Linked DNA regions of Homo sapiens: regions 2, 3, 4 and 5 are each linked to region 1. The links are contacts of gene promoters, found by promoter capture Hi-C in blood cells and fetal thymus (Javierre and others, 2016). All regions are on one chromosome and are shown on one strand. Each heading gives the region's core, a stretch centred on a gene start or on the middle of the fragment in contact. The rest is flanking DNA. Distances are from core to core; before and after follow the strand shown. Region 1 holds the start of SLFN5 (schlafen family member 5). Region 2 overlaps AP2B1 (adaptor related protein complex 2 subunit beta 1). Region 3 overlaps AP2B1 (adaptor related protein complex 2 subunit beta 1). Region 4 overlaps AP2B1 (adaptor related protein complex 2 subunit beta 1). Region 5 overlaps SLFN12L (schlafen family member 12 like).

Region 1 (5,970 bases), core at 1-2,500:
GACAAAGGATCCCCTTCTGGTGCAACCGAGCCCCTCAAGATTTCAGCACCCCAACATTTTTAGTGATGAAACCATGAAAATTCCGATGAGGCCCTTGCTTATTTGCATATGTTAACTACCCACTTTTTGCCCAATATTCCTTTTTCTAGCAATATAATTATAAACTGCTGATGCACCGTTTCTTTGTCAAGCAGGAGGATATAGCTTCAGAGTCAAGAAAAAAATTTTGCAGAAGGAATGAATGCCTTTAAGGGCATTGTGACCAGCTGCTGACGCCCAGAAGTCTGGTGGTTCAAGATGTAATCTGAGACGAAGAAAGACTTTTCCCCGAGGTTCCCTGAAATTCCCCCTCCCTTACTTCCTGGTCTCATAAAAACTCCCCACTACTTCTTTTTGTTAGGGTGGATTTGAGAGATCTTGACCTCTTGCCTTCTCGCTTTGGCCAAATGGAATAAATCTTCCTCTGTCTCCAAGCATCTGTGTGTCAGTGTTTGGCATCAACAGCACATCAGGTTCCTGAGCCTGAATTTGGGCTTCGACAACTCGGGCTCCCGGGACACATGCAAGAGGGAAACGGAATCACACCGCAGTCTCAGCCACTGCGGATATGACCAACTAGGGCTCTAGTTAGTCACTGTATGGGGGATACAGGGCTTTGTGGGCTACCCTAGTAGCCTGCCCCTGTTGTTACAGTTTGAAGACTGACGTTCCAAGCCAGGGGCTTATAGGCAAGCCTCTGGAACAAAGCCTCTTGTAATAGACTGGACATTGGCCCTATTTGTCCCCAGGCCACAACCCATTTAACTTCATCCTCGGGAGCCCCGATTTCGTCGTTTTCCCTTAAGTCCTTCGTGCTCCTGAACCGTGGGGAAATGTTGCCAGGTTTGGTTTGCTAAGATGTAGGCTGCGCTGGGTCGGCGCCTCTCCCTCCTCCCCAGCTCGCCCCGCGTTCCGAACCTCCCAGCTCCCGGGTCCTCTGCCACTAGCTGTCGTTGGAGGTGCTCCTGAGTCAACAAACTAAATCTCCCCAGCGGGAAAGACTCTCTCCCGGCAGCGCCCAGACCTGGGGAGCTGCAGTCGCCGCACCTTGTCTTCACCACAGCCCAATAGGAGAACCCGCGCAGACCGGGGGGAGGTTTGGGGAAGGCCTGGGCAAAGAAGCGCGGGGGATTCATTACCCGCTGGGTTCTCCTCGGCAGCGCGTCTCCCTCCGGGAGCAGGCAACGGAGCCTCCCAAGTCCAGAGCAGAGAACCTGACCCGGCGGGATCCCGGGCTTATATCAGCTGAGTTCCGTGACACCTCCCGGGGCGGGACATCGCGCAGGAGACAGACAGAGGTACAGCCCAATCGCATCGTTACGTGGAGCCGGAAGCCCACTCTTGCAACTACAACAGTCTTGGTAAACCTTGGGTGGACTGGGGAGAACTGAGGAGGGGAAGCGCTTTTTTGTTGCTTCTCTGTGTTTTCTATTTTATTTTATTTATTTTATTTTTAGATTTTCAGTTCTTATTTCACCCAGGGAAGGAGACCTGGGTATCCACCCCATGTCCTCCAGAGAACTTCCCTGGCCCCGCTCGGAGTCTTCCTGGGACGCCACAGGCTCGGAGAGCGCTCCGCAGGTTTCTCCCCCGGCGCCTCCAAATCTTTCGATTCCTACTCGAATTACTCCGTCAGCTGCTGGAAGAGGGGCAAGGGGTATGGCGAGACGCGTTGGTACATGGGGCACTGGGGGGAAGGGAAAGCCTCCCTCCTTCTCCTAGTAATTCGAGAATGTTGCGTCCGCCTCCTTTCTTTTGCTGGCGCTAGGGGCTCGGACCAGCACCTGCCAGGCATAGGTGTGGCCACTGGGGCGAAACCTGGCAGGCTCTGGAAACAGCGTTTTACTGACAGGAAAGAGAAACTGTTCTTTGTATTCATCACCCACCGCAGACTTCCTCACGCCCGGGTCTTAGGCGGGGCTGTCAGATTTCAGTGTGTTTCTCTTAATTCTAGTACTAAATTTGTACTGGGCGCTGGCGAAGGGCCTGGCTCCGCCACGCGCGGCCCTCTCGAACTGCCCGTGGGTACGGCGCGCGCTGCTGCCCTGTGTGGCCTGTGCGGGGAACCCGAGGGCCGAAGTGGGCCCCGCCGCAGCACAGGGGGACAAGAGAACCAGGAGCGGGCTGCCTGGGGGCAGATTCGAACCCGTGCTCCCAGCGGATAGAAGTAGCACTTGGGGACTCCTAAAATATTCAGCCCAATCCTGATTCCAGCTGCCCTCTCTAGGCACCTTTCCTCTACCCTTCTTCCAGTTTACAATTCTGGTGAGTAGATGTTTCTCTATCTCTTCTCTTCCAACTCCTGCGCCCAGAGCCAGGAGGACTTCTGGAGCCCGCCCAGCAAGACCCTCTCTCTCCCATCTTCTGCTCAAGGGCTCGAGGTCTCAGTGGACAGAGCTGAAGAAAAGCCGTCTATGGAGCCTGCGCCAGGCGCAGACTGGGTCGTCGCAGTCTGGGTCGTCGCAGTCTGGGCCGGGGCGCTGGAAGTCTTACTCACTTCTCAAGAACCCGCAAGGGATCAGGCCTGACCCTTTGCAAGTGACAGAATCCAAAGCTTTGAGCTCATGGGAAAGTGGCTGGAAAGAAGGTCACTGTAGGGCCGCACAGGTCTCTGGCGAGGCTACCCAAGAACATTTAAATCCCTGCCCAGAGAAGAAGAGGCTCCAGCTGTCCTGCACCTTCCTGGGAACTGGCAGTCCCTCCGCGCAGGGGTTCTGCAGCGACCGGCAGCGCGAGGAGACAAGGATGGTGGCCAGTTAACAGAAAATCAAGGCAGCGGGAAAGGTCTGGAAAACACCACCTACTATCACCTCTGGAGCCTGGGATTATGGGATAAGTTTTCGATTTTTAAATGTATTGTCAAATAGCTAAAGTACACGGAAAGTGCGAAATAATAGTAAATTGAACACCTGTGTATTCACCACACAGCTTAAGCAATAACATTAGCAATATTTGGGTACCCAGCTGGTCTCATTCCCTCATTCCACTTGTCCCCTACTCACCTGATAGCCAGTACAATTTTATGAATTTAAAGTTACTAATTCCCATGCAACTGTTTATACTTTTAGTAAATGTGTTTATGTCCCTCATCAACACATGACACTGATTCAACACATGTATATGCGTTTAAGCTGCATGTAAATGGCATCATGTTGGCCAGGTGCAGTTACTCACGACTGTAATTCCAGCACTTTGGAAGGCTGAGAGGGAAGACGGCTTGAGGCCCAGAGTTTGAGACCAGCCTGGGCAACATAGCAAGACCCTATCTCTAAAAAAAAAAAATTGTTTGTTTGTTTGTTTGTTTGTTTGAGACGGAGTCTTGCTGTGTCACTCAGGCTGGAGTGCAGTGGCGCAATCTCGGCTTGCTGCAATGTCGGCCTCCGGGGTTCAAGCAATTCTCCTGCCTTGGCCTCCCAAGTAGCTGGGACTACAGGCACATCCCACCACGCCCAGCTGATTTTTGTATTTTTAGTAGAGACAAGGTTTCACCATATTGGCCATGCTGGTCTACGAACTCTTGACCTCATGATCTGCCTGCCTCGGCTTTCCAAAGTGCTGGAATTACAGGTGTGAGCCCCCGCGCCCAGCCAAAAAAATTGTTTTAAATTAGCTGGGTGTGGTGGTGCCTGCCTATGAAGTCCCAGCTACTCAGGAGGCTGAAGTGGGAAGATGGCTTGAGCCCAGGAGTTGAAGGATGCTATGAGCTCTGATTGTGCCACTGCACCCCTGCATGGGCAATAGAGTGAGACCCTGTCTCTTTAAAAAAAAAAAAAAAAGTATCATATTGTATGTGTTCTGTAGAACTTGCTCCCACACTTTAACATTTTGCTTTAAAGATTTGTTCATGTACTTAGATCATTCCTTTTCACTGCTTTATGAGCTGAATCATTTCTGCTCTTCTTTCCATCCATACCCATTGGTCTCCAAAGTATCCAGGCCTCCCCAAAAGTTCCTGCAGGAGACCTCAGTTCCACTGGCTTTCAGGTCATTATTGTTCCAGCACTACTTCTCCATTTCTGGTTCCAGCCCTTCTCTCCCACATTCTCAAGCTTCTAGAGGGTCATAAGAGAGGAAAAACGCCAAATGCCTTTGATAAAATGTTGCCTTTCCAGTGGTATGCATGTTTGTGTGGAGTGGGAGGGAAGTGAGGGCAGATGTGACTTACTCTCAGCATTAATTCAAGTTTAAAAGTAAAATCTTTAGGTTTGCCTTGTCCAGTAAAAAATGCCAAGAGCCATAACTGCTCATTCTCTCTCTCTCTCTCTCTTCTCTCTCTCTCCTCTCTCTCTCTCTCTCATACACACACTTGGTTAATGCAATATTTACGTTGTTTTTGCTTCAACAAACTAAAGAGGAGAAGAGAGTTGGTAGGTTAAAGGGGCAGGTTATTCTTTTTTTTTTTTTTTTTTTTGAGGCAGAATCTCGCTTTGTCACCCAGGCTGGAGAGCAGTGGCTCGATCTTGGCTCGCTGCAAGCTCTACCTCCCAGGTTCATGCCATTCTCCTGCCTCAGCCTCCTGAGTAGCTGGGACTACAGGTGCCCGCCACCACACCCAGCTATTTTTTTTTTTTTTGTATTTTTAGTAGAGACGGGGTTTCACTGTGTTAGCCAGGATGGTCTCAGTCTCCTGACCTCATGTTCCGCCCGCCTCGGCCTCCCAAAGTGCTGGGATTACAGGCGTGAGCCACTGTGCCCGGCCAAAGGGGCATGTTATCTTATTAAGGGCAGGCAGTCTCTCACAGAAAGAATCACTGTATTAGTGTAGGGAGAATCACTGCCTAGGTCAGCCGTGTGTCAATGACCTGTGTCACTGTCCTCAGTCTGCACAGTGAGACTGGAGGCTGCATGCCATGGTCTACAGATCCCTCACTACAGAAAATTTGCTTCAGCATTCTCCGTGAGAGTCACAGGGAGATTGATTATGGGGGTCAATGCTCAATGGCATCATGGCTGGCCAAGCTTTTTGCAGAAACTTTTACTAGGGGACTGAGGATTATAGCAGCAAGCATCTTAGCATAGAGCCTTATCTGTGTTTCCACAGACTATCTTTCAAACCCAAGCTACTTGTTTATAATATTCACTTTTCAGGCAAAAACATATTTTCCACTTTTTTTCTTTTCTTGATAAAAAGTTTAAAAAACAAAATTTGCATAAACACGTATATGATGTTTCTTAGGAACAATGTTTGCCATTTGACAAAGTGTGGTGAAATTTTGTCAGAACAAGTTTACTTGAAGGAGGGATGAGACATCCTTTATCAATGTTCATATGAATCACACACATCAGAGAGAGTGGGAGGGAGAATCTTGGTTCTCTGGCACTCCCAGTACCCACATTGAGATCCGAGAGTGTCCTGATGATTTTCCTGTCTCAGTAAGTAATTAAGCTTTTCCTGAAGGAGCTCAGTTAAGTCCAAGCTTAATTTCAGTCAAGTCCAATGTTTAAGTTGCTTTTTCAGCTACATGAAATGAAAGTGTGACTCAGAATTTTCTCTCTATATCCCCTCAGATCTTTAGCACACTGAGGGTAATTACAGAGTCTCAAAGCATATCCCCACAAGATGCTCTATTTATTACAAAGGAAAAAGACACTAATTTTCCAGAGAATCCTGGAATATATCACCTCAACCAAGTGATCAAAGTTAACATCATTAGTAACAGGACAAATTAAATTGCATGCCACTAAAAGAACAATTTTTATTTCTTATGTATTCCTGACCCAATAAAACAAAACAAAACAGCACAATAGAAAGTAACTATAAGGAAACATTAGAGGGTTCAATGGTGCCCACCTGTAGTCCAAGCTACTTGGGAGTTTGAGGCAGGAGGATTGCTTGAGGCCAGGAGTTCAAGACCAGCCTGGGCAATATAGCAAGACCCTGTCTCAAAGTAAAAAGAAAAGAAAACGTTAAACCCAAACCCAAATGGAAAG
Region 2 (5,970 bases), core at 1,644-4,143, 400 kb before region 1:
AACAGATCCAAATAGGGTAGTTTCCCATGACGACTGTTATTACTACAGACTGATAGTATTTTAGTATCAGCGTAATTTAGTAAAAGCAATTTTATTAGGGGTCAAAAACAATGCAGTCCAGGTATCCAGATGTCTATTAATAATGCTTGATTCAGAGGTGAATTTCAGACTATCTGTAAGAACAGCACTACCTTGTATCCTTTAAGCAATCCTTCCTAAATACTTTATCTCAGTCAAATTTTGATAAATACTTAAGAGGTAATGAGACTGAGTTTGAAGTCTGGCCAGAATTCGTAATACAGCTCTCCTATGGTGCCTGTTAAATACAATCACATAGGCTTTAACAGACAATGATGATAAGGTTGAGAACTTGTGAAAACAGAGGAAACTACTAAACATACTTGCTTGAATATTTACAGTAAGCAGAGAGGAAGAAAGGCCAAAATTCTCTTTAGAAATTGTTTTGACAGAATGTGAGCTGCTCTAATAATGTCATTCTATGTGACCACTTACAGCAAGCTTGTCCAACCTGAGGCCACATGTGACCCAATACAAATTCGTAAACCTTCTTAAAACATTATGAGATTCTTTTGTGATTTTTTTTTTTTAGCTCATCAGCTATTGTGAGTGTATTTTATGTGTGGCCCAAGACAATTCTCAATTCTCCTCCCAATGTGGCCCAGGGAAGCCAAAAGACTGGACACTCCTGACTTAGGAGTTTAAAATTAAAACATGAAACAGAGTACAAAAAAAAAAAAAAGGCTGTGGGGGGTGTGGGAGGAATAAAGAAATTGTTTTGAATTCATCTTAGAGATGCAAATGGGATCCAGGAAATTAGAATGCTCAATTCAATACAGATAATATTAACCACTGATGTTTATAATTGCTTTGCTTCAGGCAGAGGAAGATGCTTAAGAAAGTTTTTAAAATACTTCAAAAAGCTCATACAAATACATTTTTTTAAGTTGTAGTAACAGGAAAAATTATGGCTCAGAACTAGGCAAAGTACTGTGAAAGGGTTTTAAATTTTGATTACACACCAGTATAAAGGGATGACAAAGACAGAAAAATGGTAAACTGGATATCTGAATCATATTCCATTTGCAGACACACATCGTAACTCTGACAGCCTGCTAAAAAGCCGGCCTGTTAGCAAATCCATTTATGAACATTACTAAATCATCAATGGACTGATGATCATTATACTAGTTACACTAGAAAACCTAATTATTTTGATTTCTGTGGATCTAATATAATGACCTGATATTTAAAGCCAGCTGCCACTTTCCTGAGATCTGAATCCATCTAAACTTCTTTTCTTCTGACCTAAAAAAACAAATAATTCCAAGGAGATCCAAATATATCAAATAATACAAGGAAGCAGCATAAACACTTAATTTCTGTGAGAAAGGCAACTACTCTGGAAGGTAGAACAATGCATGAAACTTTACTGAGGCATCTATTATCTCCACATGGTACTTTCATTTGAAAGCTGAAATGAAGTCACAGTGAAGCAGGTACTATCAGATCACGTCATTTTCATCTAAGTATGTCCTTCACTAAACTAAGAGTCTAGGTTCAATTTTCATGAATTATGAAAACTGGAATCAGTCAACTCATTTAAAAGCCACAGAATTAGCTACAATTCAGTTGAACACGTAAAAAGGCATTGTTTTAATATTTTAACAGGATCTAAAGGCCATACTTCCTTCAAATAAAGCTTCCCCAAATGAATCCCCTAGGAAGAGTTTCATAATTTCCTACAATTTGAAACAAGACAAATCAACATCTTGCTTTTTCCAGATTTCTTACCTGTGTTGCCAAACTCAAGACCTGCTGGACTAGCTCCTGTGTTTCTGATGGTTTCTTGAGAAACAGCTTCACTATGGCAGTAAGCAGAGTGAGCTGCACCTAAACAGACATAATTTGTGATAGTGTGAAAGAATGGCACTGGCATTATTCCCTGCCATCATCTCCAAAGTGGTGTTTCCCCAACTATGAATTACTATGGAGCCTTTCTGATTTTGGTTAAGAGACAAAAGGCTGAAACTCAATCAATATCAACAACAGCAGTCAAAAGTATTCGTGGGAAATACAAAGGTATTCAACCGAAAACTCTACCCTTTTAACCTCGAAATGCATTTTTGGCACAAAATATTGCTTGTTTCTAAGACAGATAGTTACCTGTGTTTATTATTATTATTATTACTATTATTATTTTGAGACAAGGTCTCCCTCTATTGCCCAGGCTGCACATCCATAGCTCATTGTAGCCTCAAACTCCTGGACTCAAGCAATCCTCCTGCCTCAGCTTCCCAAGTAGCTGGGACTACAGGTGCAAGCCACTACAACTAATTTTTAAAATTTTTGTATTGTTTGTAGAGATGTAGTCTTGCAATGTTGCCAGGGCTGGTCTCATAGCCCTGGCTTGAAGCGATTCTCCCGCATCAGCCTTCCAAAGTGCTGGGATTACAGGCATGAGTAACCGAGCCTGGCTTGTATTTCTTAAAGTATATGTTAACATACTGATGGTGATAAAATTGGCTCCTGAGCAAGTCTTTCATTATTTACTTCTACCAAAAGCTACAATTTGGGGGGAATTATGGAATCATCTGTCGTACTGGGGCAAGAGCCAAGACAGTAGAATTATGTCAGATTACAGCCTATTAGGAGTTGGCTGCTAAACCACAAAGCTATTGACTTGTACATACTCCTTGAATTAGGTCTATTAAAATTGCTATAGTAGATTACATACATTATTTTCTATTTGCTTTGAGTACAAATGCCAAGAAAAAAGGGCTTAATAATTTATTGGCTTCCTGGTTCTGTGGCTCTAATTTTGGTAGGGGAAAGTGAGAAGCAGTCTCAGAATTTTCATCCAAAGATAATCTTTTCAAACCTCACCACAGCCTCTAGCGAAAATCCCTGCTGTAATGAGCCACAGCCATTACTAACAGAAATGTGTAGTCATTCTTAGGTGACAGAAAATAAAAAAGTAGTGGTAACTACTGCTCTAAGCCAGTGGTTGTCAATGTGTGGTTCCGGATTGCCAGCAGCAGCATCACCCTGAACCTTGTAAGACATGCAAATACTTAGGCACATCTCAGACCTACTGAGTCAGATACTCTCAGGGTGAAGCCCAGCAACATGTGCTTTAAAAATGCCCCCCAGGTGTTAATAATGCTCACTGAAGTTTGAGAACTACTGGTCTGAGTTATGTAGGTTTTTAACATTAGAAATCAGTAAAACTGGCCAGGCAAGGTGGCTCACACCTGTGATCCCAGCACTTTGGGAAGCCGAGGTAAGTGGATCGCCTAAGGTCAGGAGTTCGAGACCAGCCTGGCCAACATGGTGAAACCCTGTCTCTACTAAAAATACAAAAAATTAGTTGGGAGTGATGGTGAATGCCTGTAATCCCAGCTACTCGAGAGGCTGAGGTGGGAGAATCGCCTGAACCTAGGAGGCAGAGGTTGCAGTGAGCCACAATCCTGCCACTACACTCCAGCCTTGGCAACAAGAGTGAAACTGTCTCAAAAAAAAAAAAAAAAAAAAAAAAAAAATCAGTAAAACTGGCCAGGCATAGTGGCTCATGCCCGTAATCCCAGCACTCTGGGAGGCCGAGGCGGGTGGATCACCTAAGTTCAGGAGTTCAAGACCAGCCTGGCCAACATGGTGAAACCCTGTCTCCACTAAAAATATAAAAATTAGCCAGGTGTGGTGGTGCACACCTATAATCCCAGCTACTTGGGAGGCTGAAGCAGGAGAATCGCTTGAACCCAGGAGGCAAAGGTTGCAGTGAGCCAAGATCCTGCCACTGCACTCCAGCCTGGACAACAAAGCGAGACTCTGTCTCGAAAACAAAAACAAAAAATTAGTAAAACTGAGAAGAGACATCCCTGTTGGGAGAAAAATGAACATACTATATGTAAATACAGACACAGAAGAAACTGCCTATAACCTTTGCTTTCTCTGAAATCTCCCCAAAGACATCTAAAACTACTAGGATAGACAAGAGACAAGAACTTACCTGGGTGCTTTCATCGTGAAAACCCTCCAGGAAGCTTTCTAGTAACTCATCTGCATTGTCAATTCTTTCAGCATATTCTCCCACAATCCAAATCATAGCTGCTCGAGCATCTGGCTCATCCAGCGAGTCTAAGTTCTCACACAGAGTGGCGATGATACTTTCATACCTGATGAAAAAAAATGAACTATGGTTATTGAGGGCAAAACTAAGAACTAATTTAACAGTGAAGGCTAAAGGCAAAACCACAAACAAGGGACCCTAAACCAAACCACCAAACTGTAAAAGCTTTTAGTCAAGAGAATGAATAGGTTTTAAGTCAGAAGATTTTAATGACTTAAATTTCCCTTCAATTATTTTTTAAGACCTAGACCTTAAAACCTTTATAAAAATTCATCAGATGTTCTTTTGTTTTGTTTTTTGAGACAGGGAGACAGGGTCTCACTCTTGTCACCCAGGCTAGAGTGCATTGGCATGATCATAGCTCACTGTAACCTCAAAGTCCTGGGCTCAAGCGATCCTCCCTCCTCAGTCTCCTAAGTAGCTAGGACTACAATTTAGTGCCACCACACTCAGCTAAATTTTAAAAATTTTTTTGTAGAGATGGGGGTCTTGCTATGTTGACCGGCTGGTCTCAAACTTGTGGCCTCAAGTGATCCTCTCACCTTGGTCTCCCAAAGTGATGAAATTACAGGTGCGAGCCACACTGCCATTTTTACAAGGAAAAATTAACCTGTGGTGTAAGATAATACCACTACCTTGTATTTGTAACAATCTTTCATATAAGTACATTAGAAAATTTTCCTATTGTTCCATTTTGCCTTCATGGTAGAGAGGAACAGAAATTCCACTTTATTTTTAGGCAAATGAAGTTAGACAACAACAGTGTCCAGACAAGAAATGGTAAATCTGTCCCTTAATCCACTTATCTCTGCTTTTTATAAAAGAGAGCTTTCTTTTTTTTTTTTTTTTTTCAAGACGGAGTGTTGCTCTGTCGCCCAGGCTGGAGTGCAGTGGCACGATCCCGGCTCACTGCAAGCTCCGCCTCCCGGGTTCATGCCATTCTCCTGCCTCAGCCTCCCGAGTAGCTGGGACTACAGGTGCCCGCCACCACGCCTGGCTAATTTTTTTATATTTTTAGTAGAGACAGGGTTTCTCCATGTTAGCCAGGATGGTCTCCATCTCCTGACCTCATGATCCGCCCACCTCGGCCTCCCAAAGTGCTGGGATTACAGGCGTGAGCCACCGCGCCTGGCCCCAAAGAGATCTTTCTTTATGTTAGTTCTTCTAAAGGTACCTGCACTGACTTATTTCTCCAAAGAAAGAAGTAATTAAAATATTTATTTTTACATATCTACAGCTCTCTCAGGCTTACCATGTTGAATCCATCTCCTTGGCTAATGTAGTTTTAACGATTAGAATGACCCTGTATAATAAATTAGATGTGGACAACTAAATAGCACACTTAACTAAGTATCTGCCTACTTTTACTGATTAAACCAGGCTCTTGATTGCTTTCTTAAACATAAACCGTCCTAACTCTTTATTAACCATAAACCAGAAATGGATACATTTCTCTACCAATCACATTCAGATACACATCTTCACCCTTAATAAGTTTAAATGTCGGGCACAGTGGCACAGGCCTGTAGTCCTAGCTACTGGAGAGGCTGAGGCAAGAGGATCACTTAAGCCCAGGAGTATGTGTCCAGCCTGGGCAACACAGTGAGATCCTGTCTGAAAACAAACAAACAAAAAAGTTAATTAAAAAAAGTTTAGGCTGGGCACAGTGGCTCATGCCCATAATCCTAGCACTTTGGGAGGGCGAGGTGGGGGGGATCACTTGAGGTCAGAAGTTCGAGACCAGCCTGGCCAATACAGTGAAACCCTGTCTCTACTAAAAATACAAAAATTAGCCGGGTGTGGTGGCAGCCACCTGTAATCCC
Region 3 (5,970 bases), core at 1,470-3,969, 370 kb before region 1:
CTGCCTTGGCCTCCCAAAGTGCTAATATTACAGGTGTGAACCACCATACCCAGCCTGAATTTTTAATGATAAGCAATTTGTATTTTTACTTACATTATACTAATAGAATGAGTTTTACAGAGATAAAAGACTGGAATAGCTAAAATGTATTGAATATTTACTTTGTGCTATTAATCCTCATAACAACTCTGAAGTAGCTGCTACTAAAAGCCACCTATTACAGATAACAAAACTGACTTAGAGAAGTTCAGTGACTTGCTTAGGGTCAACACAGCCAGAAAGGGATTCCTGCTTGAATCTGAACTCAAGGTCTGCATCTGATTCCAGTGTCTGAGTACTAATACTTGGTCTCCAGCATTTATAGAGCTTCCAAGACTTGTGAACTTCAACCAAGGGAAGGGAAAGAAGATTCAGAGTAGGGGAGGATAATATAATCCAAACATTATTTCCAGCAAAGGTGACATGTAGATTTATATACAAGGAGAAAAATGTATTCTACTTTATACATTTCAGAGATAATCATATCCTACAGTACTTAGGGAGGGAAAGATTTACTACCTAGCTATAAAATATGATTTATGATCTATACCTGTCTTATATGCAGCAGTTGAGGATAATAAATTTGACCTCATTTTGTTAAAAAAGGAGTGAGCTGGTACAGTAGGTATGGTTAGAATAAAAATGACCCTGTAAAAAAAAGGACTCTCAAAGGAAATCTAGATATAAACTGGGAGTGGAATATCACACACATAAGCTCACTTATGAGGAATCTCTCACCCATTTCCCTGTCCCTTAAAATGATTTTCACCTTGCACTCTAATTTCACTCATTTTCGTGGCCTTGGAACCTTAGAAACTTACCACTTTCCAGTTCAGTGACTTCTTCCTGTTAAGTAAATTACTATTTACAGGACTTTGATTTCCAGCAATGACCTTCAAGGTCACACACTATGAACAGATTTATGCTTCAGTTTTTCTGCTCAATTTACAATTATTTTGGCTGGTATCCCTGAAGACTTGAATAAAGTGAAAGAAGTAGAGTAACTGACCAAAACTATTATGAGGAAATACACAGGTGGTTTACATATTTTTGTTCTCTTCTAAATTAGCAGTGTTAGAATATTGCTATCTCCTTTACAGAATGACCTCAAATGACATGTGAGGCATAGGACAACATATTTGTTCTGAGAGTTTCAGTCATTATTATCTCCTTAAGGAGACAATGACTGCAGTACCAGTCAAACAAGTAAAACTTAGGGCTTATACTTTAATCCAAAACACTGTCTAGAATGCCAACTGTTAATATGCCTGCTACATTACAATCTAGAATATTCCATTTTTTCCCCATCTTCTTCCTTAGAATGAGAGGTAAAACTACCTAGTGAGCCAACACATCTCATTATGAAAAGAAAGTCTGATTACATAGTAACAAGGTTTACAAAAAATAAAATTCATTACTTAAGTGGTTTAAGATATGATTTAACAAAATTCAAGTACTCTCAAAGCCAAAACACTACAAATAAATATCGATAAACAAATAAAAGGCATGCCTATAACCATCACAGTTATTTGGACCATGGCCCCTAAAATTCATTAAAGCAAGCTGCAACTTGAACAAAATAAAACACTTATTATCACACCACTTATGATCTCCCCATTTCTAAGAGTAAAGTATTCCCCAGCCAAATTACAGCCTTGAGGTCATCTTAAAGTGACAAATGAGCCTTGATATACTGGCAAACCACCAAAACAACACACAACAGATCCAGCTTTCAGGAAGTTGCTGTTGAGAACTACTTTAAACGTACACCCTTGAATAATTACCTTGTAAAAGTAGTAAGTAGTACTCTTAGATTTAGCTTCATTTGTGGGTAAGTTGCCCTCAGAGCTTTAAAAAATTTAATCTTTAAAATTCTTCATCCTAAAAGTTTTAATCTTAACCTTAAAATTTTAATCTTATAAAATTAAAAAGTAAATTTTGCCACTGAAATACTAACCCTTCTAAAATTATTAATATCCGGCACTACAATCACTGTACAATATAGAATATATGTTTCTGCTGGGCATGGTGGCTCACTCACGCCTGTAATCCCAGCACTTTGGGAGGCTGAGGCAGGCGGATCACTTGAGGTCAGGAATTCAAGACCAGCATGGCCAACATGGTGAAACCCTGTCTCTACTAAAAATACAAAACTTAGCCAGGCATGATGGCATGTGCCTGTACTCTCAGCTACTCAGAAGGCTGAAGTGGGAGAATTATTTGAGCCCAGGAGATGGAGGTTGCAGTAAGCCGAGATTGTGCCACTGCACTCCAGCCTACGCGACAGAGCAAGACTTTGTCTCTTAAGAAAAAAAAAAGGATATGTGTTTGTTATTATTAGGGGCTTACTCCATATGAGGACCAGTATTAAGTGCTTTGCAAGCCCTCTGTCCTTTAATATTCACAACAATCCTACGATAGAAGCACTATTTGTAATCTCCACTTTGTAGATGAGGATGCTAAAATTTAGAGACACCACTCGTCTAAGAAATAGCAGAACCAGGATACAAACCCAAATCTATTTGGTTCTAGAGCCTGAGTTTCAACCACTATGCTATGGTGACTGGATGAAAAATGCCATTTCATGGTTGTAAAGCACTTTTCTGTTTTCGAGCTACCTTCAAACAGAGTAGACTGATGCATTATAAAAGGAAGTGACTAAACACAATTTGGTATTCCGGACTGAATCCTGGAATAGCGAAAGGACATTAGTGTTGAAACTGGTGAAATTCTACTTTGGTTAATAGTAACATCCCAATGCTAATTTCCTAGTTTTGGCAAATGTACCACGGTTACGTAAGATGTTAACATTAGGTGAAACTGACTGAAGCGTATATGAAAACTTTCTGTACTGTCTTTGTAACTTTTCTGTAAATTTAAAATTGTTCCTCTAAAAAATGAGGTATTTTGGCAGGGCGCGGTGGCTCATGCCTGTAATCCCAGCACTTTGGGAGGCCGAGGCGGGCGGATCACGAGGTCAGGAGATTGAGACCATCCTGACTAACACGGTGAAACCCCCCGTCTCTACTAAAAATACAAAAAAAATTAGCCAGGCGTAGTGGTGGGCGCCTGTAGTCCCAGCTACTCAGAAGTGTGAGGCATGAGAATGGCATGAACCCGGGAGGCGGAGCTTGCAGTGAGCCGAGATCGCGCCACTGCACTCCAGCCTGGGCGACTGAGCGAGACTCCGTCTCCAAAAAAAAAAAAAAAAAAAAAAAAAAAAAAAAAAAAAAAGAGATATTTTTTAAAACCTAAGTTCATAATAATATAAAACGACGTAATGATTTTTTAAAAGTGAAAATACACAGAAAATGATTTCCACAAAGCACATTATAAAAGGAAAACAAAAAGTGTTTGCTTTCTCTATAAGTAGAGACAGAAATACACTCAGACCAACTGGTGGGAAATTCAAGAGCTGGGAAGTTGGCCTCATATCAAAGCAGCCCCCAATGATTCCACTTACCCAAACTTCAATCCTGCAAAAATTAACAGCAGCTCCTTTTATAATATGAAACACAATTTGAGGAACTCAGATACAGACTGAATGTATTACCTTCAATGTTACTCTTATCAAGTGCTCACCACATACTGACATTATCATATGTGCCTAAAATTCTGCCAGCTCTAACTCCTTCATGGACATTTGATATGAAAAGTATTACACATTTTAAATTTCATTTATGTATAATATTTTAATTTTGTAATTGTTACTTACTAATATATATTTAAGGATAACAACAATCCTATAATTAACGTACTAAATAAAGTTAAGTCATTAAGTTTTTCTATGCATTCTGGGCCTACCTTTAATAGGCAGTTTAACATAGCCTACATGAATACCAAATATATTCTGACAAAAATTCTTAGAAAGAGATCTAGACAGATGGCATTTTTTCAATATTTTATCATCTTAGGTTGACAACAAATCACCACACAAGTAAACTTCCTAATGCCTAAATGAAGATTATAACAACCGGAAGGTGCATAATGTTAGGCCACTTCCTCAAGAATAGCTGCAGTTTATTAAGCATTTACCATATATCAGGCAAAGTTTAAAATTTTAAATACATTATTCTTTCATCTTCAAAATAATTCACTAAAATCGGCATTATTACCTCAGTTTTACATATAAGACAACTGAAGTTCATTTTAAATAACTTGTTCAAAGCCACATTTCTAGTAAGCAGCCAAGCCAGGACTCAAACAGCAGCCACTCTGGCTCTGAAGCCTCAGTGCTATTTCCATAATCCAGGGTTTCACAACCTTGGCATTATTAACATTTACTGCTGGATAATTCTTTGTTGTCGGGGGACTGTCCTGTACACTGAAGGATGTTGAAAACATCCCTGGACTCTACCCGATATATGCCAGTAGCACTCCTCCCATCAGGTTTGACAACCAAAAAAATGTTACTAGACATTGCCAAATGTCCTCTGGAGAGTAGAATCACTCCTGGTTGAGAACCACCATCATAATCCCATGCTGTGTCTACGTGCTGGCTAGCACATAGTCAAAATACATACTGCTTTCTGAGAAGAAAAATGTTATTTTTCATAAAATGGTTTTCAAGCAAAAGTTCAAATTAAAAGAAGCTGGAAGTTTAACTACAACTTTTGGTAAAGATTATATTTGGCCTGAATTGAGGCTATTCTGAGAGCATGCTGCTTATGCAGAAGAACACTTAACAAATGAGAAATTTTTTTTTTTTTTTTTTTTTTTTTACTAATTCAACAGTTTGCAATTTTGCAGAGAGGACAGAACAATGAAGCACAGGTATTCTCATGGGCAGCTGTGAGAGTGATAGACAGTCTGGAAGATGAAGATCAAAGGGGCTACGCAGTAAACCAAAGGGACTTACGAGGACTGAACCCAAGAAGACAAAAAGCAGGCCAGGCATGGTGGCTCACGCCTATAATCTCAGTACTTTGAGAGGCTGAGGCTGGAGGCCTGCTTTAAGCTAGGAGATTGAGACCAACCTGGGCAACAAAACAAGATCCATCTCTACAAAAAATAAAATAAAATAAATTAGCTGGGCATGGTAGCATATGCCTGTAGTTCCAGTTGCTCGGGAAGACTGTTTGAGCCCAGGAGTTTGAGGCTGCACTGAGCTATGATCAAGCCATTGCACACCAGCCTGGGTGACAGAGCAAGACCAGGTCTCTCAAAAAATAAAAAGTAAATTTTTAAAATAAATAAAAACAAAAAGCAAAGCACATATGGTGGGGCTGTCAAGAGCATCTCTGGAGTTGCAAATTCTAATATACGTAAGTTAACTGAGGTTTGAATACCCCTAAATGCCTCTGAGAGCAAAAAAGAAAACCATAGTAACGAAGCTAGAGAATACTATCATTCATTCAAAAGTGCATATCTCAATAAAACAAGTCATATACCAAAAAGATACACATTTTCTTGCAAATATATACTTGTGACATTTGTAAAAAAAACCACAAAAGCTATTTCCCTATAGCTCTAAAATGTTTCCTTATTCTGGATGGAGGTTTACCTTCAAAATAATGAACTAATAAAGTCCACATCTGACGACAAGTTTAATTCCCTTGGAACAGATAGTCCATACAAATATTAAAGGAATCAGAACCTTTTAAATTAATATTGTAGCAATAATGTTAACCTCTGCCTAATACCTACTTCATAATTACAGTAGCAGCCACCACTTATGAGCTCCCATAAGCCAAGCACTTTACAGGGCACTTTTCATGCAAAAGCTCAATTAATAATCCAAACAACTCTCTAAGATAGTAGCCTTCATCTTCCAGGAAAGGAAACAGACTTGGGTAAGTTAAACAACATGAACATAAAGCTAGGACTTAATAGAGTGAGATTTTTTTACTTCTAAATTCATCTTTTCTCTCTTAACTAGTATTTCATCAAAAGTTAGCTTCAACTAAACTATAAATTGTAAAACAACTGCAG
Region 4 (5,970 bases), core at 2,003-4,502, 350 kb before region 1:
AAGCAATTCTACTGCCTCAGCCTCTAGAGTAGCTGGGATTACAGGCACATGCCACCATGCCCGGCTAATTTTTTTGTATTTTTTTTTAGTAGAGACAGAATTTCACCATGTTGGCTAGCCTAGTCTCGAACTCCTGCCCTCAAGTGATCCGCCTGCCTCGGCCTCCCAAAATACTGGGATCACAACCGTGAGCCACCACGCCTGGCCTCCACACTTTATTTCGAATAGATCTTTTATCCATGCATAATTTTGTGATATACATATGCTCTGGTCATTTGGAAAAATATTGGTTCACTGAGCTATGCTGACACATTTCATTATAAAACAGCAAATAATCACAATCATTAATTTCACCACCAATCTCCTCAGAAAAGTCTTTAAGCATTAGGAAGCTGTCAAGCTTATGATGGGAGATACAAATTTTCCAAAATTCTAATTTTTTACTTTAAAACCTGAAACGTATCCATTGTCAATTTTTTTCCCTTGAAGTGACAGGTTCACTTTGTTCATTTTTGAATAAAATATCTCCCAAATACCAAAGTCTGATTAAATATAGTTTGTCTGTCAATCATTCTTTCACATAAAAATGGTGTTTGCAGTTCAAACAACTGCACAAGGGTTTTTTCTCAAGTCGACCATTGCACTGCTACGCAGCAGAAGAGATTTATGGGTAATCCCTATTTCATCAAACACAATATTAAAAAGGTTCAAGTTTTAATAAAACAAATTTTTACTGCTCATGAAGGACATTCCTAAGTGAAACTGCTCTTTTTTAGCACATGGTGTTAAGGAATACAATGACTACCATTATGGTTGGCACCACTGCCTTCATTCATGCTGAGGCACCAGCAGTTTTACCCACCACTGCTTTGCACCATCACTGTAAACATCCAAATAGTGAAAAAGGCAAGTAACATCTAAGTATTATTATGAAAACAGCTTTGACCTCACGGACCCCCCGAAAGGGTCTTAGGATAATCCTTAGGGGCCTGCATATAGTCCTTACTTATTTCCAAATGGTCTTAATTACAGAAATAAAAAATAAGACTACATGGATTTGGTTAACATTGATTTTCATCTTGAATCCAGCAATTGAATGTACAGTTGTAAAGTTGAGGGCAGTGGCTTGAGCCAGTTAAAGATCATGTGAACTTATGCTTCTCAGTGTATTTTTATCATCTTCTAAAACGACCTCAGCAAAAAGATTTGTAACTGTGCCAGCTCTCAGGAGGTGTTATGCTAGATCTGAATGCAATGAAATCAAACTCGTTTCACTGTTCTAACACAAACACACACACACCCCATAACAAACAAACAAACAAAAAGTAGAGCATTAATACAAAGGCAACTGCACTTCCTAATGATGTTTTTAGTGGGACAAACCCATTCTTAGAGGTTCTATGATTATGATACTTTTAAAGGAAAAGCAGTAAAGGCCATAAGATGGGGTATGGACCTCTGAAGTGATCAATGGCAAGGGTGATTACTCTTACCTAACATCCTTCCCCACGGTCATAGCAGCAATCACTTTCTTCACAGCCTCCTTTCTCTTTTCTTTCTTTTCATTGTTGAGTTCAGCTTTTAGTTCAAATATTTCTCCTGCAAGAGATGAGAGCAAACTGGTAAGGTTCCAGTACCACAGACTTAGAGCAGAATACTACACTATGTAATAACCAATACCAGGATAGCAGGGCAGCAACTAAAATAAGATTTTAAAATTATAGAATATATAAAATTCAAAGCCCTAGAATATTACCTGACTCACTGACAAGGAAGCCATCAGTAAGTTTTAAAAATCTTTTAAATTATGGCCAGAGAGGAAGGTGCAATCCAGATCTTCAAGAACCACAAGAGTGGGAAAAACCAAATCTCATTATATCTAGCTACAATGGGGAGAGAACAGTATATGAAGGATGATCTTCCATCAGAATGTTAAAGTCTGGAGGAGAACATAAACGTAGGTAGGGAGCAGGCGCGTATTACCTCATTTACCCACGCTCGGCTTTACAGATTAAGAAATGAGGCTCAAAGTTCACAGAGTCAGTGACAAAGTTGGGCTTAGCACTGTGTCTCCTGACTCTTGAATGCAAAGGTTCTCAGCCCTGGCCACACACTAATATTACCTGAGAAATACTAAATATAGCAAAGTACAGGCTCCACTCTGGGCCAAATAAATCATAATGTCAAAGAGAACTCATATTTATACCTTTAAGAGCTCCACCAAGTGACTCTAACGCACACCCAATGTTGAGAATCACTACTTTAATCAGTACTTTAATAAATCAGTGGGCTTTAAGGCCCTTGCTATTCAATCAAACAAGAATAATCTTGAAACCAAGAATGGTACACAATGGAGTCATTTCCAAAGGTACAATCTTGAATGACTGCTTAGGCTCCGCACTGTAAACTGTCAGGGACTGTAACCACTATTTTAAGGCCTGGTCTCCAGGCTCACCTATCTGCAAGAAGCCGGAACCAAAATAAAAAAGAAAGTAACAACCCTAATATTGTTTAAAAGAAACGGAAAAAAAACACTAAGTCCATGAAAAAGAGGTTGACTACTCCCATCTCAACTTTCCATCTACATCCTCCAGCTCATCTACCATACTGCCTCAAAAGACTTTCCTCCACCTTCAAGACTGTTCCTGTCGTTCCTTTCAACCAGATCTCATTTACCAGCATAGAAACAGTGGGGACAGTCTCCGCTTCCGGAGGTCGCTACTGCTGCCTCAGTGGCCCCGGAGCGGGGGCGCCCAGGGGTCCTTCGCCCCCGGCCACGGCCCCCACAACGGGGCTTCGCCGCCACCTGTGTCCGAGCTGGACCGTGCAGGCGCCAGGCTCCTCTCCGAAAGGCGCACGAGACAGCTTTCTTCTCCTGGTTCCACAATGGCCTCCTGGCATAGGGCATCGGGGTTATCTCCTTCATGCAGAGTGACATGGATCACGAAGCAGCATATGGCTTCTTCCTGCTGGGCGGCCTGTGTGCGGTGTGGGGCAGCGCCTGCGGGGCCTGGCAGCGCTGCGGGGGCCCATGCAGCTGACGCTAGGGGGCGCAGCTGCGGGCGCTGTACTCGCCACCAGCCCGCTCTGGGTGTGCGCCGCCGTGGGCTTCTACACCGGGCAGCTGGAGCTGGACGTGAAGCTGGTGCTCGAGGGCGACGGGGCGGCCTCCGCGGAAGGCCCTGATGAGGCAGGCTGGCCGCCACCCGAGTGAGCGACATGGCCGCCGGGCCTGGCAGGCGCGGGATGACGGCGCCCGAGGACTGGGACATTAAAACCTGACCTCCCCTCCTCCAAAAAAAAAAAAAAGAAAGAAATAGTGGGGACAAACACTACGTGATTTGCCTGAAACCATTATGTGGAAAGGATGAAATTAGTAAGACACAGAAGTAGAGCACTTTTTCGTTTCAATATCCATGGCCAATAAGGCAAAAAAATTGTTCCAAAATTTCTATTTAATCAACAGCTACAAAAGTAGCATAGCAAGAAAAGCTGGGCCCTTTAAAGAGTCATTCTTCATAGGACTCTTCACCATGTCCCATCCTGCCAAATCCAGCTCTTAGAGTTCCTCTCATTCACTTCCGGGAACAGTGAAGGACAAACGGCGGGGTTTCAGAAAGTCTGAATTGTGAACAGCAGCAGGTGTTATAGAATCAAAGCAGGATGTAACAGAAATTATTCCAATTCCAAAAGCATAAATTTAAAGAATATGTTTCAGTGGCAGTTCTGGTGGGTGTTGCAGGAAGTACAGGGAACACAATCTATCAATTTTTTTTAAGTATGATGTTTATTAGCAGTGATTCAATCTGCAGTCTCAAACTTTTACAAATGCCTGAATTAAAAAAAGGTCACCAGGACACTTTTCAAGAGTAGGTTTGAAGAATTAGGAGAGTTTTAAAATTATAACTATTTAATTGTAATTGTATCCCTTTATATAATTATAGACATTTTGTTCGTCAAAGCACACAAAATGCTAACAGAAGAAGAAATAAACATATTTCCAAAAGAAAATCAGAAAAAGCTGAGACTGAATGACAAGTGGCTAATGGCTTTTGTGAGGTGTAAGTAATAAAAATAAGGAGGAAAAAGTTGGGCAGGACCAAAGAGGGGTACTAAAAGAGGCAAAGTCATATATTCTACAACTTTATTAAATTCCTATATTTTCTCCCTCCTCCTCCCCCCAATCAAATCTACCAAGCACTGTTAGCAGCTAGCAGTAGTTCTCAATCATGGCTGCACATTAAAATAATCTGGGGAGCTTTCTTTTTAATTTTTTTCTTTTGAGACAGGGTCTCTCTCTGTTGCCTAGGCTGGGGTACAGCGGCACAATCACGACTCACTGCAGCCTCAACCTCCTGCACTCAAGTGATCCTCCCACCTCAGCCTCCCAAATAGCTGGGACTACAGGTGTGCACCACCGTACAGGGCTAATTTTTAAATTTTTTTTCATAGAGATAGGGTCTTACCATGTTGCCCAGGCTGGTCTCAAACTCCTGCACTCAAACAATCCTCCTGTCTCAGCCTCCCAATGTGCTGGGATTACAGGCATAAGCCACCATGCCTGGCCACCTGGAGAACCTTTAAAATCCTCACACCCAGACCATATCCAGGACAACTGAAATCAGGCTGAGGTTGAGACCCAGGCATCAGTATTATTTCAAAGTTCCCTGGCTGAGCAATTCTGATGTGTTGCCAAGACTGAAAGCTACAGACAACAAACTGACATAATTAAGCAACTCACTGCAACAAGAGAAAAAGAAGAATGGTAGTTGGCGCCATGTCTGGAATACTTTGGTAAATGTAAGGACTCCTGAACACAAAAGCACAGAATTCTGATCCTAAGCAACAAATAAAGCAAGCTAAGCTACAGGCACAATAAGCTGAGATGGGCTAAAATGTTTGTCTTTGATGGGAAGACCCTCCACATTTCTAGAAATGATCTATTTTATTTAGGAACAATTTTACAAAAGATGAAGGGTTGGACTTTCCCCAGAAGAATCCTTTGTTCCTAGACCCAAACTCATAGGTAAAAACAAGCATTATATTACTGATAACAAAGATGATGAGAGTAATAAGTGCAAAGTCCCTCAAGTAATTCCGTCTATGACCTAAAAACCATAGATGGCTCTAGAGATTCCGTTTTAAATATACATCTAGACGAAGAACATGGTAGATGTATATGGACGGATATGAAAATAACTCATTTCTATTCATTGTTTTGCAAGATTGCTTTTTCATTAAAGATAAAAAAATTTTAAATCATATGTATTAATATATGCACTCATATGCAGAGAAAAAGACTTGAGGATATACACCAAGTTCCCTTGGGAATAGGAACAGGAAGGGAGAACTTTCATTTTTACCTTTTACATACATATCTGTATTGCTTTAATTGTATTCTTTGTTATAAAATGTTTATTTCCAAGTAAAAATTATTTAATAAAAGGGAAAAAGTATGCTGCTTCTTTTGTCCTCCTCACACTTAACCAATCTCCAATGGATCATCTCAAACAGCAAAGAGGAGTCTCTTTCACTAAACAGAACCTTCAAGTCATAATAATGTGCATCACAGCCCTCTCTTTTAAAACCTACTCTTTAATAACTTGCTTGAATACATTCATCTATAGAAGTAGTAGATGTCCAGTGAGATTGTCAGCTACATGTATGTCTGAAGGAAGAGGTCAGCAGCATTCTGCCTGGGGCAATCTTACACTACAACTTTTGAAAATTTCAAAAGATTTGATTGTATTCTCATACTTACCTTTTTTATTGGTTGTGAAATACTTGGAGTCAGTCATGACTTTGGATCTTTAATGTGCACCTATAGCAAGAGAAAAGAATTCCTTCATTCAGGTTATAGATATCCAACAAGGCATCCAATTAATTTTAAGAACATCCAATTAATTTTAGGAACACTTATATTTAAGAATTTCTAAAAATGAGTATCATCTTCCTTTATCACCACCGTTG
Region 5 (5,970 bases), core at 2,242-4,741, 270 kb before region 1:
TCTGTTCAGTGGTTGGGGGGCTTAGGATTTTATTTTTCATACTCAAGATTTTCAAGAGGAAGACCACAGGGATGAACTGTAATTGTCATCATATCATATCAGGGGTGTATGCGATCGACATGTCTTATCATGTGGATATTAACCTTGACTGTATGAGTCAGAAAGTGTTTGCCAGGTTGATCCACCGTATTTACTTTTCCTCCCTCAGGTGTCATAAGTGCAGTTCACACTCAAAGGGTGGGGATTGAAGTGCCACTTCCTTGATGTGGGGAGAGAGGATGTAGCTATTATACATAAGTTATTTGGAATTCTTCTGTATAGGAGACTTGTCTTTTCTCCATTTACTCATTCATTCAATCTTTTACTTGTATGAATGAACTTATAGGTATTTATTTAATATTTTGGGTTATATTTCAATATTACATTATTTAGTTCCTCAAATTGTTCTAGTATTAGCCATTGGAAGCTCTTTCTTTTTTATTTATTTTATTTTGCTTTAAGTTCTGGGATACATGTGCAGAACGTGCAGGTTTGTTACATAGGTATACATGTGCCATGGTAGTTTGCTGCACCCATCAACCTGTCATCTAGATTTTAAGCCGTGCATGCATTAAGTATTTGTCCTAATGCTCTCCCTCTCCTTGCCCCCCTACCCTCTGACAGGCCCCAGTGTGTGATGTTCCCCTTTGTGTGTCCGTGTGTTCTTATTGTTCAACTCCCACTCATAAGTGAGAACATGTGGTGTTTGGTTTTCTGTTTCTGTGTTAGTTTGCTGAGAATCATGGCTTCCAGCTTCATCCACGTCTTTGCAAAGGACATGAACTCATTCTTTTTTATGGCTGCATAGTGTGTACGTGCCACATTTTCTTTATCCAGTCTATCATTGATGGGCATTTGGGTTGGTTCCAAGTCTTTGCTATTGTAAATAGTGCTGCAGTAAACATATGTGTGCATGTGTCTTTATAGTAGAATGATTTATAATCCTTTGGGTATATACCCAGTAATGGGATTGCTTGGTTAAATGGTATTTCTGGTGTTAGATCCTTGAGGAATTGCCACACTGTCTTCCACAATGGTTGAATTAATTTACACTCCCACCAACAATGTAAAAGTGTTCCTATTTCTCCACATCCTCTCCAGCATCTGTTGTTTTCTGACTTTTTAATAATCGTCATTCTAACTGGTGTGAGATGCTATCTCATTGTGGTTTTGATTTGCTTTTCTCTAATGACCTGTGATGGTAAGCTTTTTTTCATGTTTGTTCGGTGCATAAATGTCTTTTTTTTTTTTTTTTTAAATACAGTCTCACTCTGTCTCCCAGGCTGGAGTGCAGTGGCACGATCTCGGCTTACTGCAACCTCTGCCTCCTGGCTTCAAGCAATTCTCCTCCCTCAGCTTCCCGAGTAGCTGGGATTATAGGCACCTGCCACAATGCCCAGCTAATTTTTGTATTTTTGTAGAGATGGGGTTTCACCGTGTTGGCCAGGGTGGTCTCAAACTCCTGACCTCAAGTGATCCACCCACCTCGGCATCCCAAAATGCTGGGATTACAGGCGTGGGCCACCACACCTGGTCATAGATGTCTTCTTTTGAGAAGTGTCTGTTCATATCCTTTGCCCACTTTTTGATAGGGTTGTTTGTTTTTCTCTTGTAAATTTGTTTAAGTTCCTTGTAGATCCTGGATATTAGACCTTTGTCAGATGGTAGATTGCAAAAATTTTCTCCCATTCTGTAGGTTGCCTGTTCACCCTGATGATAGTTTATTTTGCTGTGCAGAAGCTCTTTAGTTTGATTAGATCCCATTTGTCAATTTTAGCTTTTGTTGCAATTGCTTTTGTTTTAGTCATGAAGTCTTTGCCCATGCCTATGTCCTGAATGGTATTGCCTAGGTTTTCTTTTAGCGTTTTTATGGTTTTGAGTTTTACATTTAAGTCTTTAATCCATCTTGAGTTAATTTTTGTATAGGTGTAAGGAAGGAGTACAGTTTCTGTTTTCTGCATATGGCTAGCCAGTTTTCCCAGCATGATTTATTAAACAGGGAATCCTTTCCCCATTGTTTGTTTTGTCAGTTTTGTCGAAGATCAGATGGTTGTAGATGTGTGGTGTTATTTCTTAGGTCTCTGTTCTGTTTCATTGGTTGATGTATCTGTTTTGGTACCAGTGCTATGCTGTTTTGGTTACTGTAGGCTTGTAGTATAGTTTGAAGTTAGGTAGTGTGATGCCTCCAGCTTTGTTCTTTTTGCTTAGGATTGTCTTGGCTATATGGGCTCTTTTTTGGTTCCATATGAAATTTACAGTAGTTTTTTCTAATTCTGCAAAGAAAGTCACTGGTAGCTTGATGGGAATAGCATTGAATCTATAAATTACTTTGGGCAGTATGGCCATTTTCACAATATTGATTCTTCCTATCCATGAGCTTGGAATGTTTTTCCATTTATTTGTGTCCTCTCTTATTTCCTTAAGCAGTGGTTTGTAGTTCTTGAAGAGGTCCTTCACGTCCCTTGTAAGTTGTATTCCTAGGTATTTTATTCTCTTTGTAGCAATTGTGAATGGGAGTTCACTCATGATTTGGCTCTGTGCTTGTCTGTTGTTGGTGTATAGGAATGCTTGTGATTTTTTTTTCTCTGCCCCAGCCCTAAAATCAGCCATTTCTCCAAGAAGCTCTGGTTCCTTTTACTGAAGAATGGCAAAAACCAAGATCTGTGCCCTCACTGCTATTTGTTTGTTTTCTTAATTTGTTTATGTTGACTATTCTGGCTTTTGCGGGATGTCACTGTATATGACTGCAGTGCCCATGGCACACATTAGCCATGTGTAGAAAATTAGTGCTTGCTATGTGGCTGGTGCAAATTGAGATGACAAGTAAGTGTAAAATAGACACTGGGATTCAAAAACTTAGTATGACAAAGAATGAAAAATTACATGAATCATTTTTAAATGGATTACGTGTCAAAATGATAATATTTTGGAAATATTTAGTTGAATAAAATATTTTATTAAAAGTAAAGCTGCTTATTTATTTTTACCTTTTAAAAATGTGCTTACTATATTAAAATCACATTTATGTATTGCATTATATTTCTGTTGGATGGCACTGGTATATGGATCATTAAAATAGGTCTGCTCATTGTTAAAATTAATCTGCTCATCATTAGACTAGACCAGTGGCTCTCAATAGAGTGGAGGGGGTGGTGGATTTTGCCCTCCAAGGGACATAATATCTGGAGATATTTCCGGTTGTCACCCCTTGAGGGGAGTGTGTTAATGGTACCTGGTGGATAGAGGCCAGGGATACTGCTGAACATCCTAGAAGGTACAGGATAGCCCCCCACAACAAACAATTTTCCAGCCACAAATCTCAATAGTGTCAAGGCTGACAAATCCTGTACTACAAAAAGAAGGAGTATAGTTCTATCCTTCTTAAACACGTATTCCAGAATGGAAAGGCAGAACTGGTTAGAGTTTTAATCTGATCAAAGTGATGGAATGTTTTGCTTTAGGACAACTAATGCCTGGTGCACTGAGGTTCCTATATGCTGGGGAGCTGGAAAATGGAATGAAGAATCTTAGAGGATTCCATGCCCCTAGTAGGGACCCCAACCTTTTTGATGCTGAAGTAATAGAGTTGCAAAAACTGTTTGTTCTTGTGAAGTGGTAGTGATATGTGAAGGACAACTAAGGGAAATAGTTTCCTCAGAAAGATAAACTATCTTCAGTGGATATTAGAAAATAAGGATATTAATGTCTCTCAAATTCTATGGTCCTATATTGATCAGTTTGAAGATGTTACTAAGTGTTTATATAAATCTAGTAGAGGGGGTCTCTAAGAATCCCAGGGAAAAAATAAGAAATTAAGCCCAAAACATCCAATTCTTTAAATATGCTAACTCTTTAAGAAACACTGGCGGGGTGCGGTGGCTCACGCCTGTAATCTCAGCACTTTGGGAGGCAGAGGCGGGTAGATCACGAGGTCAGGAGTTCGAGACCAGCCTGGCCAACATAGTGAAACCCTGTCTCTTCTAAAAATACAAAAATTAGCCGGGTGTGGTGGTGGGCTCCTGTAATCCCAGTTACTCATGCGGCTGGGTCAGGAGAATCGCTTGAACCTGGGAGATGGAGGTTGCAGTGAGCCAAGATCGTGCCACTTCACTCCAGCCTGGGCAACAAAGAGCAAAACTCCATCTCAAAAAAAAAAAAAAAAAAAAAAAAAATTGCCGGGCGTGGTGGCCGCTCCTGCAATCCCAGCTACGCAGAAGGCTGAGGCGAAAGGATGGCTTGAGTCTGGGAGGCGCAGGTGGCAGTGAGTTGAGATCACGCCACTGCACTCCAACCTGGGGTGACAGAACGAGAATAGGTCTCAAAAACAAACAAGCAAAAAATCAAAACAAACAAATAAACTAAAACAAAAGAAACACTCTCCAGGCATAGAGAAAATAATATAAACTCAGTGGTAATCCTATACACATGACTCTCTCTCAAACTTGCACAAATATAGTAAATGAACTAACGATTTTAATCTTCAGAACCCTGGATCTTGCTTTCCAAGTGCCTGTCCCGCCGGCGTCGGGTCTGAGCGGCTCCCTGTGCTCGGATGGTTTGTGGGCAACCGCTCCTTTCCCCCACCGCCGCAGTCCACACTCAGCGTTCTGGGGAAGAGGCTGGGTCGGAACGGAGCCATCGCCGCTGGAGTATTCGGGGCCCTTTTCATCGGGTACTGCATCTACTTCGACCGCAAAAGACTGAAGTGACCCCAACTTAAAGAATAGGCGTCCAGAATAAAGAAAGAAACAGAAGCTGGCCGAGGAGTGAGTTGAGCTTTCCAAGTTAGCTGACCTTAAAGATGCTGAAGCTGTCCAGAAATTCTTCCTGGAAGAGATATAGCTTTGGTGAAGAGATCCTAGCTAAAGGTGTAGACCACCTGACAAATCCAAGTGCTGTGTGTGGACAGCCACAGTGGTTACTGCAAGTGTTACAACAAACTCTTCCACTACCAGTGATCCAGATGCTTCTGACAAAGCCCCTACCAGTTAATCAGAGACTTGTAAGTGCTGGCGCTTGGCCAAAGACGATGTGGAATGAGAAACAAATGTCAACATAATAAAATCTCAGTTAAAATACTTGAAAAAGTCTTAACTTGGTAGTTGAGCAGAAGGGCAAATATGCTTGTTATGAACTATTCTACATTGAAATCTACCAAAGTTAATGTTTACTTTGTGTAAATCCATTTGGTTCATTTATTTTTCCCAGTGAAAAGCATATTTTGATAGAGATCTTTTCATTTTTTAAGTACACTATGAGCTACTGAAATATCACAGATTTTGTTCATTTCTAAAACATGAGATTAAAATGTGCATATGGCCTTGCTTATGTTGAAAACACCCAGGGCTCAGTGTTGAAAGATAGGCAGAAAAGTGTAGGAGAAACTGAAGAATGCACATTTTTACGGCTAGTGCATTATGCTATAAATCAGAAAATTTGATAGAGACTTGATCGTGTTTGTGAAAACTGAGGATTAAAATTTTGAGGTGATGATTCCATTTAATCTCTTAGACATAAATCTGCGAGGTGTGCTGTTGTGCTGTGTTAACATTACCACCTTCCAGTGTGTCAGTCTTGAAATGTTTTGTTTAAATCAGTGAGCTTAATGTGTTCTAAGCAATTATCTCCTTGCATTTAAAATATAAGTAGTTGCAAACAGCACCAGGAATTAGATTTATGTATACCCCAATCAAGCTTTGTGAGCTCACTTTCCTCAATGTATTGAACGAGGGAGTCGGAGTCCATTTGCTGATCTGCAAAGTGTCCCTTTCAGCTTCTCGGTCATTTGGTTCTGTTTAGTATCTTCATATCCACCTTCATCTGAGGAACGTATGTTGGCAACCAGGCCTTGCCTTTTTTAATATTCTGAATTTCGCGTGCTTGCCTGACTTAGTATTTCCAAATTTATCTTTTTTCAATGATACAACTCTA

What was found. Contacts are between HindIII fragments. The CHiCAGO score rates a contact against its expected background, and 5 or more counts as called.
Region 2: a fragment that was not itself captured here is called in contact with the fragment with the promoter of SLFN5 in region 1 in 1 of 17 cell types (total CD4 T cells); the score reaches 6.1 in total CD4 T cells.
Region 3: a fragment that was not itself captured here is called in contact with the fragment with the promoter of SLFN5 in region 1 in 2 of 17 cell types (total CD4 T cells and naive CD4 T cells); the score reaches 5.6 in total CD4 T cells.
Region 4: a contact is called between a fragment that was not itself captured here and the fragment with the promoter of SLFN5 in region 1, in 6 of 17 cell types (naive CD4 T cells, activated CD4 T cells, total CD4 T cells and 3 more). The highest score is 9.5, in naive CD4 T cells.
Region 5: a fragment that was not itself captured here is called in contact with the fragment with the promoter of SLFN5 in region 1 in 8 of 17 cell types (total CD4 T cells, activated CD4 T cells, non-activated CD4 T cells and 5 more); the score reaches 13.5 in total CD4 T cells.

What each region holds. Positions count from the first base shown.
Region 1 is chr17:35,238,352-35,244,321 of GRCh38, reverse strand. It overlaps SLFN5 (schlafen family member 5), which reads right to left and starts at 1,250. Exons shown (of 5, transcript NM_144975.4): 1 at 1,179-1,250. LOC105371932 reads left to right here and starts at 171. Exons shown (of 4, transcript XM_047437262.1): 1 at 171-211; 2 at 1,103-1,400; 3 at 1,497-1,696; 4 at 2,352-4,279. The coding sequence starts at 171. The coding sequence ends at 2,799. RefSeq lists enhancers at 207-835, 809-918, 1,439-1,498. The HindIII fragment of the contact is 6,062 bases long and covers 1-2,595 here.
Region 2 is chr17:35,637,818-35,643,787 of GRCh38, reverse strand. AP2B1 (adaptor related protein complex 2 subunit beta 1) reads right to left here. Exons shown (of 22, transcript NM_001030006.2): 11 at 4,028-4,193; 12 at 1,813-1,911. Among named protein-coding and RNA genes, the nearest start is that of AP2B1, 53 kb to the right of the region's middle. The HindIII fragment of the contact is 2,341 bases long and covers 1,723-4,063 here.
Region 3 is chr17:35,613,446-35,619,415 of GRCh38, reverse strand. All of the region lies in intron 5 of AP2B1 (adaptor related protein complex 2 subunit beta 1), which reads right to left. Among named protein-coding and RNA genes, the nearest start is that of AP2B1, 29 kb to the right of the region's middle. The HindIII fragment of the contact is 6,619 bases long and covers 1-5,970 here.
Region 4 is chr17:35,593,859-35,599,828 of GRCh38, reverse strand. It overlaps AP2B1 (adaptor related protein complex 2 subunit beta 1), which reads right to left. Exons shown (of 22, transcript NM_001030006.2): 2 at 5,762-5,821; 3 at 1,494-1,599. The coding sequence starts at 5,798. It also overlaps the pseudogene LOC100420062. Among named protein-coding and RNA genes, the nearest start is that of AP2B1, 9.5 kb to the right of the region's middle. The HindIII fragment of the contact is 5,699 bases long and covers 403-5,970 here.
Region 5 is chr17:35,513,875-35,519,844 of GRCh38, reverse strand. The region is part of intron 2 of SLFN12L (schlafen family member 12 like); the gene reads left to right. It also overlaps the pseudogene TOMM20P2. Among named protein-coding and RNA genes, the nearest start is that of SLFN12L, 21 kb to the left of the region's middle. The HindIII fragment of the contact is 4,488 bases long and covers 1,248-5,735 here.